3 separate regions of the Homo sapiens genome follow, and regions 2 and 3 are each linked to region 1. The links are contacts of gene promoters, found by promoter capture Hi-C in blood cells and fetal thymus (Javierre and others, 2016). All regions are on one chromosome and are shown on one strand. The core of a region is centred on a gene start or on the middle of the fragment in contact, and the rest is flanking DNA. Distances in the headings are between cores, read along the strand shown. Region 1 holds the start of PPM1B (protein phosphatase, Mg2+/Mn2+ dependent 1B). Region 2 holds the start of SRBD1 (S1 RNA binding domain 1). Region 3 holds the start of PRKCE (protein kinase C epsilon).

Evidence for each region. The method cuts DNA at HindIII sites, captures the fragments that hold promoters and counts their contacts. A CHiCAGO score of 5 or more calls a contact.
Region 2: the fragment with the promoter of SRBD1 here is called in contact with the fragment with the promoter of PPM1B in region 1 in 8 of 17 cell types (fetal thymus, monocytes, total CD8 T cells and 5 more); the score reaches 14.6 in fetal thymus.
Region 3: a contact is called between the fragment with the promoter of PRKCE here and the fragment with the promoter of PPM1B in region 1, in 1 of 17 cell types (fetal thymus). The highest score is 5.0, in fetal thymus.

The regions. Positions count from the first base shown.
Region 1 is chr2:44,165,959-44,170,288 of GRCh38, reverse strand. PPM1B (protein phosphatase, Mg2+/Mn2+ dependent 1B) reads right to left here and starts at 1,414. Exons shown (of 6, transcript NM_002706.6): 1 at 1,015-1,414. PPM1B-DT (PPM1B divergent transcript) reads left to right here and starts at 1,497. Exons shown (of 2, transcript XR_940034.3): 1 at 1,497-2,991. It also overlaps the pseudogene PDSS1P2. RefSeq lists silencers at 854-1,063, 1,384-1,713. The HindIII fragment of the contact is 4,313 bases long and covers 1-3,117 here.
Region 2 is chr2:45,608,119-45,612,713 of GRCh38, reverse strand. SRBD1 (S1 RNA binding domain 1) reads left to right here and starts at 1,447. Exons shown (of 21, transcript NM_018079.5): 1 at 1,447-1,495. RefSeq lists an enhancer at 1,627-1,796. The HindIII fragment of the contact is 4,677 bases long and covers 64-4,595 here.
Region 3 is chr2:45,648,906-45,653,623 of GRCh38, reverse strand. PRKCE (protein kinase C epsilon) reads right to left here and starts at 1,949. Exons shown (of 15, transcript NM_005400.3): 1 at 1,176-1,949. The coding sequence starts at 1,523. LOC102724965 (a long non-coding RNA gene) reads left to right here and starts at 2,409. Exons shown (of 2, transcript XR_005647119.2): 1 at 2,409-3,659; 2 at 4,241-4,718. RefSeq lists enhancers at 1,271-1,891, 2,380-2,674 and silencers at 2,050-2,519, 2,690-2,789, 3,420-3,519. The HindIII fragment of the contact is 7,889 bases long and covers 1-4,718 here.

The DNA of each region.
Region 1 (4,330 bases), core at 165-2,664:
ACAACTTCCCAGTTATTAACGTCTCTTTTTAAAAAAGTTTTCAAGTTGTTCTTAGAAGAAATTGAATATTGATGAATTTGGGCTGCTATCAAACGCCTAAGAAGCACTTTTTTTGCCGAATAAGATGGGCAAACGTCCCAGATCTGCTAAATCTGATATGAGAGGTCATGCAAGTTTAAAAAATGAAGAAATAACTATTTCCAACACTCACTGAGTCCTTCATTTAAAAAATTATTTTCGGTGTTATTTTCACACTTTACGTTTAATAATACAATTTTTTCAAGGTTGTTAGGCTTAAACTATGAAAAACTGATTTACCACATATGGCTAGTCAGTCTATACTCTTAATGGGGCTCCGGTAGATTTGGGGTACTGACAATAAGTGGCAGTTTCAATTAAGAACTTCACTGTTAGGAATGACATCCGAAAAGGATGGTGCTAGGGAAGACAGGCAAGAGATGCCGGGGTACGAAGAAAAGAGAAACACACAATTTAAAGCCACTAAGGAGGGAAGGCGAGGGTAGAACGCATAGACAGCAGAGAAAGACGATTTAACAAGGAAGTGAAGTGGAGCGCAGAGTAGGGCAGAAGCTGATGAGGAAACGAATGGTAAAAGATAGTGTTTTCAAACAGGGCATGCACCAGGAAGAGAAGCGCCAAGGCTTGGGGTAGCCCCAGTGCTTTCGTGTGAAAGAGATGCTTGCAGACTGAAGCGGAGGGAAGAGAGAATCAGTCAGCTTCCAGGCGTTCCAGCAAACTCCCATTCTCTCCCTGCGCCTCTCCCAGACCTCAGCCCAGCGGAGGCGGCGGCCGGGGAAGGGGCCTATACCCGAGAGCCAGGCCCGGCGTTCCCCTGCCTAGGCTCCGCGGCAGCAGGGAAAGCAGCGAGGATTCGGAAGGACAGAGGCCCCGGCCGCGGCTCGGCAGCACCGCGAAAACCTGCCCAGGGCCCGGGGCCTCGGCGGCGCGGCCGGTCAGCCGCTTCCCCTCCGGCGGGGTGCCGGGCGGCCTTACCTGAGGCAAGGGAGGGAGAAGATGTCTAGGGCGCCTCGCTCGCGCCCGCCGCGGTACTCAGCCCAAGTTTCCAACGGAGGCGCGACCCTGACTCAGCCGCCGCTTCCCCCTCGGGGTCTCGACCGCCGCCTCCGGGGCTGTTTACACCGCCCGGCCCCTCACGCCGCCGCCGCCGCCGATGCCGCCTTCTCTCCACCCTAGCGCCGTTGCCGATTCGGCCGCCGCCACCTCCTCCGCCGCAGCCTCGTCTCTCTGGAGCATCTTCCAACCACCGAACCCTGAGAATCAGAGACTCCAGCCGCGCCGGCAGGAAACTCCCCCGCAACTGCTAGGGGAACGAGGCCGTCAGAGCACCGGCGGCTTTTCCGCCATTGAGCAGAAGCCGCTCGGCTCCTTTTGCAACCCCCTCCCCGCACCCTAGTCCTTCCCCGCCCCTCAGGGTGCCCCGCCTCCAGCTGCCACCCACTGGGATGCCGCGCGCCCTCTCACGGCCCCCGGTTTGCTGGGAGTCTTGTCAATCACCGCTCCCCCTCCCCGTGCTGCTCCCTCGGCACCTCCGTACTTCGTTTACCCCGCCCACCCGGCCCCGCCTCTGGGTTTCTAATTTCCCATTGGGCATCAGTGGCTACTTTCAATAGGCAAGGTCAGCTGTCCATCAAACACCGCCCACTAAGTGAGACCCAACCCTTTATTACCATTTACTTTATTCGGCCCCGCCTCCGCTAGGTCCTACCTCCCGAACGTCAGGGACCAGCCCCCGCTACCAGCCATAAGTAGAGCCCTCCGTCAATCAAATAACGCCCACCTGCGCTCCTCCTAGCAAAGCCCCGGCCCCAGCGATTGTCTTTTCTTATTGGTCCAACTCGTGATCCGAACCCCCAGTCACTGGCTTTCTTGCGGGTCAGTCACTGAGCCAATTTCCAAGTCCGTCACACCGGCTTTTTTCAAATGAACGCGCAAAAGGCGGGGAAGTATCTGGAAAGCGATTGGTTCGTCCTAGAAAACGGTCAAACCCGGAGAGTCTGTACGGATCCTTTCCGTTCTGTGAGGACCGTGCCCCCTTGTATTTGACCTCTAAGCCTCGCGTAAAAGAAGCGCCATAAGGGACCAACGAGCAGTCCAGCTATAGGTGTGGACGCCTGGTCCCACCCGGAATTGCAGGGGCTTGGCTACTGATTGGCTAAGAAAGTCCTCCTAGGCCCTCATTGGAGGATCTAAACGCCTCTCTTCGGCGTGGAGACGGGAAGGGACGACTCAGACGAGGACAAGAAGTGGGCAGGGGAGAGGCGGTTGTTTTGCTTCAGCCGCGGGTGGGGCGCAGGCGAGAGTGGGAAACTGGGAAGGCCGGGCTCTGGGGAGGTGTTGCGGGGAGGGGAAAGGCCCGGATGTTCCCTAACAATGAAATCATCGCCGACCTATCAGAGCCGCCGAGCTGGGATACCTGCCTGACCTGTACCCCGGAGGGAGAAGAGTGGGCGGGAAATTGGGGTGTCGGAAGAACCTGGAAAGCAACGTGAGAAAGTGGGACAGGTGTTCCCTTCAGGAGGATTTTGTGCTATTAGAGATTATTTTTATACCAGCCCTTGACATTTCCGTATTTTGTTTCTCAGTCGGCATTGATATTAAAACTCCCAGCCTAGTCTCTTGACATGGACTTGTTCATTTCGCAGTTATTGAGCGCCTACTGTTTGCCAGGTACTGTATGTAGAACTGGAGATACAAAAATAAATTAGGCAATCGCAGTACAAGATGATAGGTACTACAATTGAAACATGCACAAGGGCTGGTGACGACATAAAGGGTCTTCCTTGTGCATAGGTTTACCAAGAAAGGCTTCACAAAGACACAGGATGAGTCAAGAATGAATGATAGGGGTTTAACAGGCCGATGGGGAAAGTGGACATGACTCCTCCAGCTATCAAATTAGACGATGCTGCCATGTTAATTCTCCAAACGAGAAACAAAAGTGTAATAGAGGTATTCTAATACTTACCTTAGGATATATATATATATATATATTTTTTTTTTAATCCGAATGTCCTAAAAGAACTTAAACCTATTTCCTACTTTGGTGTAAAATGGTTTGGGCAGACAATTTAAGCTTAGACCCAACAGAGTGCTATTCAGGTTAGGGGCTGTCAATGTTTTATAGAAAAGGGCAAATTTAGTAATAGGACAATTGTCCAGGCCGTCATAAGGACGGCAGAAACAAAGACTTAATTGCAATTCGGGTTTTTTTGTTTTTTGAGCAAGCATATTTTACTTTTTAATAAGACAAATCTGAAAAAGCAAACGCGGTCCAAAAAGCATGTGATTCGGTAAGAGAGATTTTAAAAAACCAAAAAACCGTATCTTCTTTTCACCCCAGATCTTATTAACTGTGTGTTTTCCTCTTCGAGAACTTGTATCGTCAATAACGTCATCGTGAACCAGACTAGCAGTGTGGATCATTTCTGCAATTAAGGCTATGGCGCGGTGGCTGGCTTGCACATGTCAAATTAACAGACAGCAATGCTTTTTAACAGACGCCGCCTAGAACCTTCTCAGCAATCAGCTTGTGAAAATTGGACATCGGATCGGGAGTTGTTATGATGGATATTACATGCTCGGGCCATTAGCACCCCAATAATTGGTCGAAAGGCTTTTCCTTTTCCATCAAAGTAGTACTCAGACATTTCCTGAAGTTCTGTTGTTGATATGAGCAGTTCCTTTCTAATGTCCTCATACAGACCTTTCAAGTCTCTGCAACCGAATTTGAAAGGATCGGTGATCTGTATATTTCTCACCACTGTGTGTTTTACTGTCCGGGGTTGTGTGATAAAACCGTGATATACTGTATACATTTGGACAGGCAGATGTTAAGCGCTTCACAAGACTAAAATAGGGTATCTGAGACAAGCCGAATCCCTTCCGCCTATGAGCCTGAGCGCGGGCGCCGGCAGCGGCGCGCGGCCCTGGAGGCCCTGCAAGGCCGGGGGAGCCGGGCACACCGCCACCAGCGTGAGGCCATGGTCGGAGACTGAAAGTCGCGGCAGGGTGGCGGCTCCGCCTCTGCAATTCAGATTTTTAAAACCTACTCATCAAGTTTGTGTGAGAATGGTGTTTCTTACAGCATGGTGAATAGACCACCAGCATCCGAATCATCTGGGATTCTGGGATAGAGATTCCCAGGTCCACTCATGCCTACAAATCAGGGACTCTGGGGACAAGGCTCAGAAAGGTGAATTTTAAAATAGCTCCCCAGATGATTTTTTTTTTTTTTTTTTTGAGACGGAGTCTCACTCTGACGCCCAGGCTGGAGTGCAGTAGTGCAATC
Region 2 (4,595 bases), core at 198-2,697, 1.4 Mb before region 1:
GATTTTTTTTTTCTTCCCCAGCTGTAAGGCAAAAATCCCTTGTGGGGAGAGGAAAGTCAAGCTTCAATGCTTTGCTGGCCCACTCTTACTCTCCTCCTCACTGTAGTGTGGCTACTACCTGCATACCCAACCCTTGAAGCTAGACTGTTTTGCTTGGGTGTCTGTTTCCTCTGGCTGTATCTGGTTCCTACTCTTGGTCGTAAATTCCTCCAGGGCAGGACTTATGTCAAAAGACTTTGCAGTATATTAGTTCACCTTTACCCTTACTACCTCTGCAATGATTGGAATGTCCCCTTCAAAAATTCAAGTTGAAACTTGTCATTGTAATAGTATGAAGAGGTGGGACCTTTAGGAAATGATTAGGTCATGAATGAGTTAATTCCATTATCACAGGAGGGTTAGTTATTTCGGGAGTCAATTGGGTTCACATGCCTCCCCCACCCCTACCCCAGTATGATGCCCTCCATCATATTTTGACACAACAATAATGCCCTCTGTCTTGGACTTCCCAGCCTTCAGAACTACAAGCCAAACAAATCTCTTTCTTTATAAATCTACCAGTCTATGGTATTTGGTTACAGCAGCAGAAAATTGACCAAGACAACCCCTTACCATAAACCTGAGTAGCAAATGCAACATCAAAAGTAGGTGAATAGTAAGTAGTACATTATTGTTGTTGATTTCTATGATCTGGTTTCTCTTCCCACAATCCTGAACGGTAAGGTGTTCTCTAGTATTTCTTCAGGACCATAAATTGTGAAGGAGACTGTGATTGTAGTAGACAATTCTAGGCCTTCTGGAACCATCACTAAAGGCAACATACGACTGTGCTAATTAAAAGGAAAAAAAAATCCCTAAACAATCTCGGAAACTGATCTTTCCTGGCCAACAATCTCAGATATAGAAGATTAGATTTACTAAATTTAGAAAGAATCCTTTTTTTTTTCCCCCAATCACAAAAATTATCCAGTAAAATCTATGCTCACTTCCGGTAGATCTGCAACAAGGCACGGTCACAGGTCATTTCAATAACTTGCTAGGCTCTTCAGTACTCAGAGTCCCTGGAAATAAGTCATTAGCAGTGGAAAGCTGCTTTTTAGAATTTTCTAAAACAAATCCATGGGGTTTTGATCTGCTAAATTCGAATGTAGACAACAGCAGCCTTATTTCCCTACTTTTATAATCTAATTTATTTGGCTGTATCTGTGGGCTTAAGAGTTTAGTGTTCTTGGTAAATAACACGTAAAAAAAAAGTCATTTTTCATTTCTACGAACCAGCCCCACCCCGGCGCTCCCTCGGGATCCTCGCTCTAGCCCCGCCTCCGTCCAGCCTGGCTCCGCCCCGTTCGGTAGCGCCGCGCCTTGGAGGTCTGTGGCTAACTTGGTCCGGAAGAAGCGAGGCGGACCTTCTGGCGTTTGAAAAACTTCCGGCGGGAACCGGAAGGTGCGGTGGCACTCACGGAATCTCGGGTCTTCTGACGTGCCGGGCGGGAAGGTGAGCTGTGCGTGCGCCTTGGCGGTCGTCTTGCGGGTTCTCAAGAGCCCGGCGTCCGGGCTCCGGGATCTTTGGGGCCATTAAAAAAGTTCTGAGCGCTCATTTGGGCAATAACACCCCTTTTTTAAAAGTGAGAAGTTCATTACATTTTACTGTCAGCGGTCTCTCACAACCGACCACCCGAAAACCCCTCCTAGCTACCTCGTGACACCTCTTTTCAGCCAAATTGCTGCAGCTCTTAGCGCATAACAGACATAGAAAAGCCTGGGCAAGCCTGTTTTTTTTTTTTTTGAGACGGAGTCTCCCTCTGTCGCCCAGGCTGGAGTGTAGTGGAGCGATCTCGGCTCACTGCAAGCTCCGCCTCCCGGATTCACGCCATTCGCCTGCCTCAGCCTCCCGAGTAGCTGGGGCTACAGGCGCCCGTCATCACACCCGGCTAATTTACCTGGATTGTTTTTATACCTAAAATTATCGGAGGTGGGAGAGGAAGCACCCTTTTCACGGTCATGGTGGCCCTGTCTGAATCAACTGCACCTTCTGTAGTGCGCCTGGCATGTAGGAGGCGCTCAGTAACCGGAGGAAAGGAATGAATTGGGAACTCTCTAGGCAACTTTCCTCGAACCCCTCACGTGACATGTCATTAACATATTGTGTGTGGAATGGGAAACGAGACTAGTCTTGGTGTTCCAGGCACTGGGCTATAGTCCTTTGCCACATATCTTTCCCCTTTGAGTAAACTGTTTCACCTCATTGGGTCTCAGATTTCTGAATATAGCGGGACTGTCTGATCTCAGGTTCTTTCAGCTCTAGTATTTTGTTTTTGTGACTTGGGAATCTGCTAACATTCAAGCACTCTGTTGGTCCTTCATGGAAACTTGTTTAGGTGCTTCTTAAGAAATTGTCCTCCTTTGTTTGCCTTCTTGAATTTAAATTTTTTTTTCCAATTTTAATTTAGTATTTGTTAGTGTGCACGTCCTTTTGCCCCTTTGTCCTGATTTGCAGTCGTCCTAGTTTAGTGGCTCTTCCCTTAGTAACATCATAGCAACCTCCAAATTATTGGTTTGGAATATGCTCATGTGCCTACAGTGATTAAGATAGTTTGAAAGGAGGGAAAAATCCCAAGTCACTGAAGAATAGGAATATTCTTATGTGCCATCACTTCTTCAGAAAGAGATGAATGCAATGTGTGGCATTGCCTAAGAGTGGTGGAAAATAAATGTATATTCCTCTGTAGAGACCATATTTGTACATATTATGTTCATTTAATAGTTGTAGGGCATCTGTTAAGTGCTAGGTTCTATGATATGGAAGTGAATAAGGCACATGCATTTCCTTCTTTCATGGTATTTACTCTCTTGACAGCAGTGCAAGCAATAAACAAGTAAAATAAAAATAATTACAGATTGTGTTATAACCTACTGTATACAGGAAGTAAATAGGCTCCTTTTAAAATATAATTGAGAAACCTATTTTAGGCCTGAAATGTTAAGATCTAAGGGATGCAAGGAGCCAGCCAATTGACAAGCAGGGGGAAGAATACTCCAGGCAGAGAGTACCTGAGGTGGGAAAGAATGTTATGACAAGAGCTGAGGAGCTCCAGCAAGTAGTAAAGGTGGTTAGAAAGGTGAGCAGGGCTCAGTCCGACAGGGCCTTTTCAAAGGCCTCATAAAAATGTGGCTTGATTCTAAGTGAAGGATGGGGTGGGAAGTAATTCGTTGTTTCTAAAGCATATTCTAAATGATCTTGAGTTGATAAGTGGAGAATGAGTTGCAGGGGCAAGAGTGGAAGTAGGGAGGGCAGTTAAGAGGCGAGTGTGGTAGTTCAAGTGAGGGAGGTTGAGGACTAAAGGCTCACTGAAGATCGTGGAGATTCAAGACATTTTGGAGGAGGATCTTATGTGACTTACTAATAGTCTGGATATGTGAGATGAAAGAAAAAAAGATTTGTAACATTTTGACTTAGCAAATGGAACTTTGGAGGATGATAATGTGTTCATTTTCTTGATTGTAGTGATATGTATACATATGTCAAAACATCAAATTTGCACACTTTAAACATGTGCAGTGTATTGCATGTCAATTATATGTCAATGAAGCTGTTAAAGAATTTTCTGGCCAGGCGCCATGGCTCACACTTGTAATCCCAGCACTTTGGGAGGCCGAGGCAGGCAGATCACCTGAGGCCAGGAGTTCGAGACCAGCCTGGCCAACGTGACGAACCCCGTCTCTATCAAAAATAGAAAAATTAGCTGGGTGTGGTGGTACACGCCTGTAATCCCAGTTACTTAGGAGGCTAAGGCAGGAGAATTGCTTGAACCTGGGAGGCAGAGTTTGCAGTGAGCTGAGATCACTCCAGGCTGGGTGACAGAGTGAGACCGTCTCAAAAAAAAAAAAAAATTTTTTTTTTCAAGGTTCTGGCTTAGCAAATAGGTGGGTGCCACTTATTGAGATGGGAAGGACTGGAATAGGAACAGGTTTTAGAGCAAGAAATGGTCATCAAGAGTTCCATTGTGGATGTGTTAAGTTAACTGTGAGACATCTAAATAGTTTCAGAGACAGGCAGTTTATTATAGAAATCTGAATGTTAAAGGCACGGTTTGGGATGGAGGGATTAGGATTGTTAATAAGTAGGTGACATCGGTATGTAAAACCGTGGAGATGGATGAGGTTTTGGTTAATCTAACAAGTTTTATGACACAAAGTAAGAGGATATGGGAGTAGTGGAGATGGAGAAACAGGCCTCAAGAATATTGGTGTTTAAACTGGAGAATACATACTCCTGGGGGTGTACCTGTCGTAGGTAGTTTTAAAGACATAATTTCCAAGTCTTCAGCTTTTGTATATATTCTTTCTAAATCTGATCTGCTTGAAATTGGCTTGTGTGTTCATGCAGATTCTGCTTTCCCACCTTTCCTTTTACATTGATATTTTTAACATTTGTGAAAAGAAATATTACAACTCACTCATCTTTCCATGGTATATTGCTTTCGGGGTGCCTTATAAAGAGGCAGTTGGAAATATTTGATTTAGGGGAGCCTTCTTTAAGGATAATGGTTAAGCAAAAACATAAGCCTGCCAAGGGTTTGCCTGTCCCTATTTTA
Region 3 (4,718 bases), core at 700-3,199, 1.5 Mb before region 1:
GCAACCTCTGACCTCTAGGACATTCATGAAGTTAGCTGGTTTTCAATAGAAAGCAATTGCTCTACACCACTTTTGAGGCTTAGATAGCTCTCTCACTTTTTGTGTAGACCAAAGAACCCTGAAAACATATACCTCCAGAGGAACGCTTGTACTTGCTGGAAACATGTAACAAACCTGAAAACACAAAAATCCACATCCTAAATTAATACCTTCCTTCCAAGAAGAGAGAAAAAAAAAAAAAAAAAAAAAAAAACAACCCAAAAACAAACACAAAAAGCAAAATGAAGGTTTGCTTCTCTCTGCTTGTCCAAGTGCCAAGACTGGATGCATTTGGTTTATAGTAGATTGAGACAAGACCTCTTTCCAAATCCTTAATAGTTTAATAATGGAATCAATTAACAACTCAATCTCATACTTAGAAATCGTCTTTTATTGCACAGTATCTTGACAATCAAAACAGAGAAACAATATAACTTTAAATAAGATTCAAAGCACTGACTTCCAATTACCCACAAGCAGAACCCTTCTTAAAATGCAACATTCATTCTGCATGGATGGGCAATGAATTGGACAAAACAAGCTCGACTGATGTTTCTGGGACCATAGAGGAGACATCCTGGAGGAGAACACATTTTTTCTACTTGTATGTCAGAAGATGAGCTAACCACCATGCAAGAGAATAGAAACAAGCCAGCTTCCTCTCGGAGGGAAAAATAAAGCAACTCCTCGCTCGGCTAAGCAGGACAAAGCCAGGACGTGCAAGAAGCCTTCAGTCAAAGGCTCCACGTGCCTTTCCAAGGACGGAGGGACCCACCCACACACAATCACACACAGCCAGCCCACCACGCGCCTGCGGAAGAAAGCCGGGTCCTCGGCCAACCTTCAGCACCAGTGGCCCAGGCTCTCCCAGTTTGCAAACCTCCCGCAGCACCCACCAACTGGAGGGCACAGAGGGAGCAGAGGGCCACATCCTCTTTCCAAGTCTCATCTTCCTCGCCAATGCCTGTTTCTCCCCAACTATGAAGTGAAGTGTACCTCCCCAAGGAAACTGAGACTTACAGGCACACACACCCCAGTCGTCAATAAGTCCCGGAGCCCTACGATCAAGACCAGCGAGTCTTTCCCCGGGACCCCACAACCGGGTTCCCGGAATGACGGGGAGGCGCCGCACTCACCCAGTCCTCGAAGTGGCGGCTCCCGTTCTGCAGCAGCTCCTCAAACTGGATGGTGCAGTTGGCCACGAAGTCGTCGTAGCCTATGGGGGCATCGTGAAAGACAGCCAGCTCGATCTTGCGTCCGTTGCACACATCGGTGACGAACTCGTCGTGCCAGGCCGGGCTGTTGGTCTTCTGCTTGGTGGCCGTTTGGCCGATGCGCGAGTCGTCCACATTGAGGGCAATGTAGGGGTCGAGAAGGAAAGTCTGCGGCCGGGGTCCCACCGCATGGCGCAGCGACCAGGCTGTGGGCTTCAAGCTCACGGCCTCGCAGATTTTGATCTTAAGAAGGCCATTGAACACTACCATGGTCGGGGCGGGGAGTGGGGGCCGGGGTCACTCCGTCTGCCCCGAGGGCAGGAATGAAGAACCGACGGCCCGGCACTCCGAGCCACAGGGACTCTTGGGTCCCCTTTCGCCCCACCCCGCACACTCCCTACACCTTGTGGCGTTGCGCCCTGGCGCGGGCGATTCTCAGCCAGTGCATGTATTTCCTCGCCGGGTTCCTAACGGAAAACAGGGAGGGGGGAGAGCTGGGGGATGTCCGTGTTTGGAGCAAGTCTCTCCCCCCGACCACCAGCTGCACCTCCAGAAGAGAAGACGAGCTGTCGGCTCCGCTGCAAGCCGCGGGGGCTGCCTCGCCGCCTCGCTGGCTCTCCGGCTCCGGACTGCGGGAAAGCGGGCGCCGCGCCCGGCGCTTACCTACCTTTCCGAAACATAATCCCGGGAAATTTCGACTCCGGGAGGGGGATGGGGCGGTGGGACGGGGCGGGGACGAGAACCGGGGGCGCAGATTTCAACCCGGATCCTCTTCGCACACTCAGCGCCTGCCTCTGACCGCGCGGGGCGGGGGGGTGAACGGAGGGATGTTCAGTCTATCCGGAGGGATGCATGTCGAGAGGAAATGGTCCTCCTCGGAGCCAAATTTTTAAAAATCCACAAGCCCCACGGCCAGCCGGGGCCGCCGCCTCCTGGGCGAAGCAGCGCCGCGCCGGAGCCGGCGATCGGGAGGCGCCAGGAGCCCGGAATCTCACATCCGCGCGGGCTCGGAGTCCGGGCGGCCGCCGATCCGGCTCGGGGGCGCAGGCCAGCACCGGGCGGTGCGCAGCGCGGCGGCGGGGCAGGGACTGCGACTCAGCGCGGCCCCACCTCCTGGGCGCCGGCGCCCGCCCTCCGCGCTCCCCGCGTCCCCGCTCTCGGCTGCCGCTCGCTCGCCGCCCGCCAGCCCGCGCTCCCCCGCGGTCTCCTCTCCCTCTGTCGGTGTGCGAGCGAGTCTCCCTCCCTCTAATGCAGGAAATGCGCAAAAGACGTCAGTGTGTGTGAGTGTGTGTGTGTGAGTGTGTGTGTGTGCACGCGCGCGCGCGCACGGCAGTGTTTGGGGAAATAGAAAGTTTTGCCGGTTGGGGGAGCAATACGGAAAAAGTGAGCCGAGGAGACAACGGTGGAGAGCTGGCGAGGCTGCCCGGGGTCGCAGCGGCGGGCGGGTCAGCCGGGGGGCGGGGACCCCGCGCGGGACCCCGGGGTGCGGCGGCGCTGGGCTGGATGCGCGTGCCGGGGGCCGTGGATGGCCATGGATGGGCCCCGCCGGGCCGCGTATCTCTCGGGGACCCTGCGGCCAACACTGTCTTTTAGAGCCGGGGATGGGGGAGTGGAGGGGGCCCTGTTGCCCTAGAGGCCTCGGGACCCTTCCCTTGCCCACCCCCACTCGGGCCGCGGCGGGCAGGAGCAGTCTGCGGAGTTCTGGCCCATCTGTCACTCTGTCCCGGGACGCTGTGATCCACGGCGGTGGGGGAGGGGGAAGGGGGAGGGACAAGCATGGCTCGGGTGAAGTTTTAAACTCTGTTCTTCTCTCTTGCCTTTCTTTGGGGACATTCTCCCCTTTGGGATCTGTCCTGGACTTCGCAGGCTGCGAGAACTTGTTGACAAGTGAAAGCTCGGTAGAGCCCCGGCTTGGTTTGTGGTCTGCTTATTTTTTGCAAAGTGACTGTTCCTGTTTGCGCTGGTCCTTATCGGTGCCCCTTTGGGGGACTTCGGCACTGATCAGCGCGCTGACAGCCGCCGTCCGGGCTGCGGGAAAATGGGGCGCGCCCTCCGGGGGGCGAGTGGCTGTGTCCTTGCTAATTTCCTCCGTAACCTTTAAACTCTCGCTGGAAGCTACCGCCGCGGCTGGTCACGTGAGGAGAGCCCTGGGCTGCTGGGGAAAAATTTCCTCGGCTGGGAGCCGGGACCGGGCCGGCGGCCGGCGAGGGACTGCCCCGCGCCCGAGACTGGGAACCTGGGAGGGCAGGGCCGGAGCGCTGGGCCCCGGGGCGCGGCCCAGCTGGGACACCCGCGAAGACGGCGGCGGTGAAGAGGTCGGCTCCGCTGCCGGGGAGCTGGGGATTATGCAAATGGGGAAAGAAAACCTCCGCCCTCGCCCTTCTGCCAAGTCAAGTCTGGGAATTTGTAGGTATTGTGGTAAGCTGAGTGTTCATCTGGCGGGTCTGGTTAGTGTAAACCAAAATTTAAAACGCGCCTCCCGATCACTTTTTCCTCAGTGGGTAAAGGTTATCATTGCCTGCGGCTTAAAAGCCTAAAAAGGCTTAAAGGCGAGGAAGGAGGCAGTCCCCTGGAAAAACAGGATATCAAGTGCAGCAAACACGTCCCAAAAATGATCCGAAAAGTTCTAGGGCCATCTCCTAAGAACAGGCAAAGCCTTTGCCTGCAACCGCTCTGGAGCTTCCTAATACAGTAATTTCTCGCAGCCTGCCCTGTTGAACAGGGCAGCTGGGTAGAGATGGTGCTAAGATTCAGTCTTCCGTATGATCTAGGTAGCTCCGATGTAAAAAGCCAGGATTTCAATGGTTGTCTTACCCTGTCACTCCCCCAGCTGGAGATACGATATCTTAAAATATGTCCGTTTGACAAAGCACAAGCAGGGGTATCTCATTGCTGTTTAATTTTTATTTCTTTGATTATTACTTTTTTCCCTTTTGCTTCTTCCTTCCACTCTGCTATTCTCATGAAGCCTCTTTCCCCCTTTCCAGGGCATGTGATGGAAGGCAGTGGCAAATATGGCTTGATCTTCTGAAAATGCATTTGGGAAGCAGAGCCAGCACCAAAGTGAGATGAGTGAGATACTTTTCAGAGGCAAAATGTAAAGGGTACCAATAAACGTAATCAAGATAAAGATTTAATACAATTTTTTAAAAATAAAAATGTGAGAATCCAGAATGGACACAATATCCACATTTTAAATAATTTTAAATATTGCACTAAAATATTTATACTACTGAGTTTATTGGCACCTGTTAAATTTTGTACCTGAGCCGAGTGCGTCACTCATCTCACCCTAGTCCTGATCCTGTTGGGAAGTCTGGAAAGTCAAGGATTTCATGGAGTTAGGGATCCTTGACTAATTGGTGCTTCATATGTTCTCATTACTTGCTTTGGGTAAGTCTTGTACAGGCAGGAGCCACCATGCCCAGCCCCCAAATATATTAAATAGGGTCTGTTACCATCTCA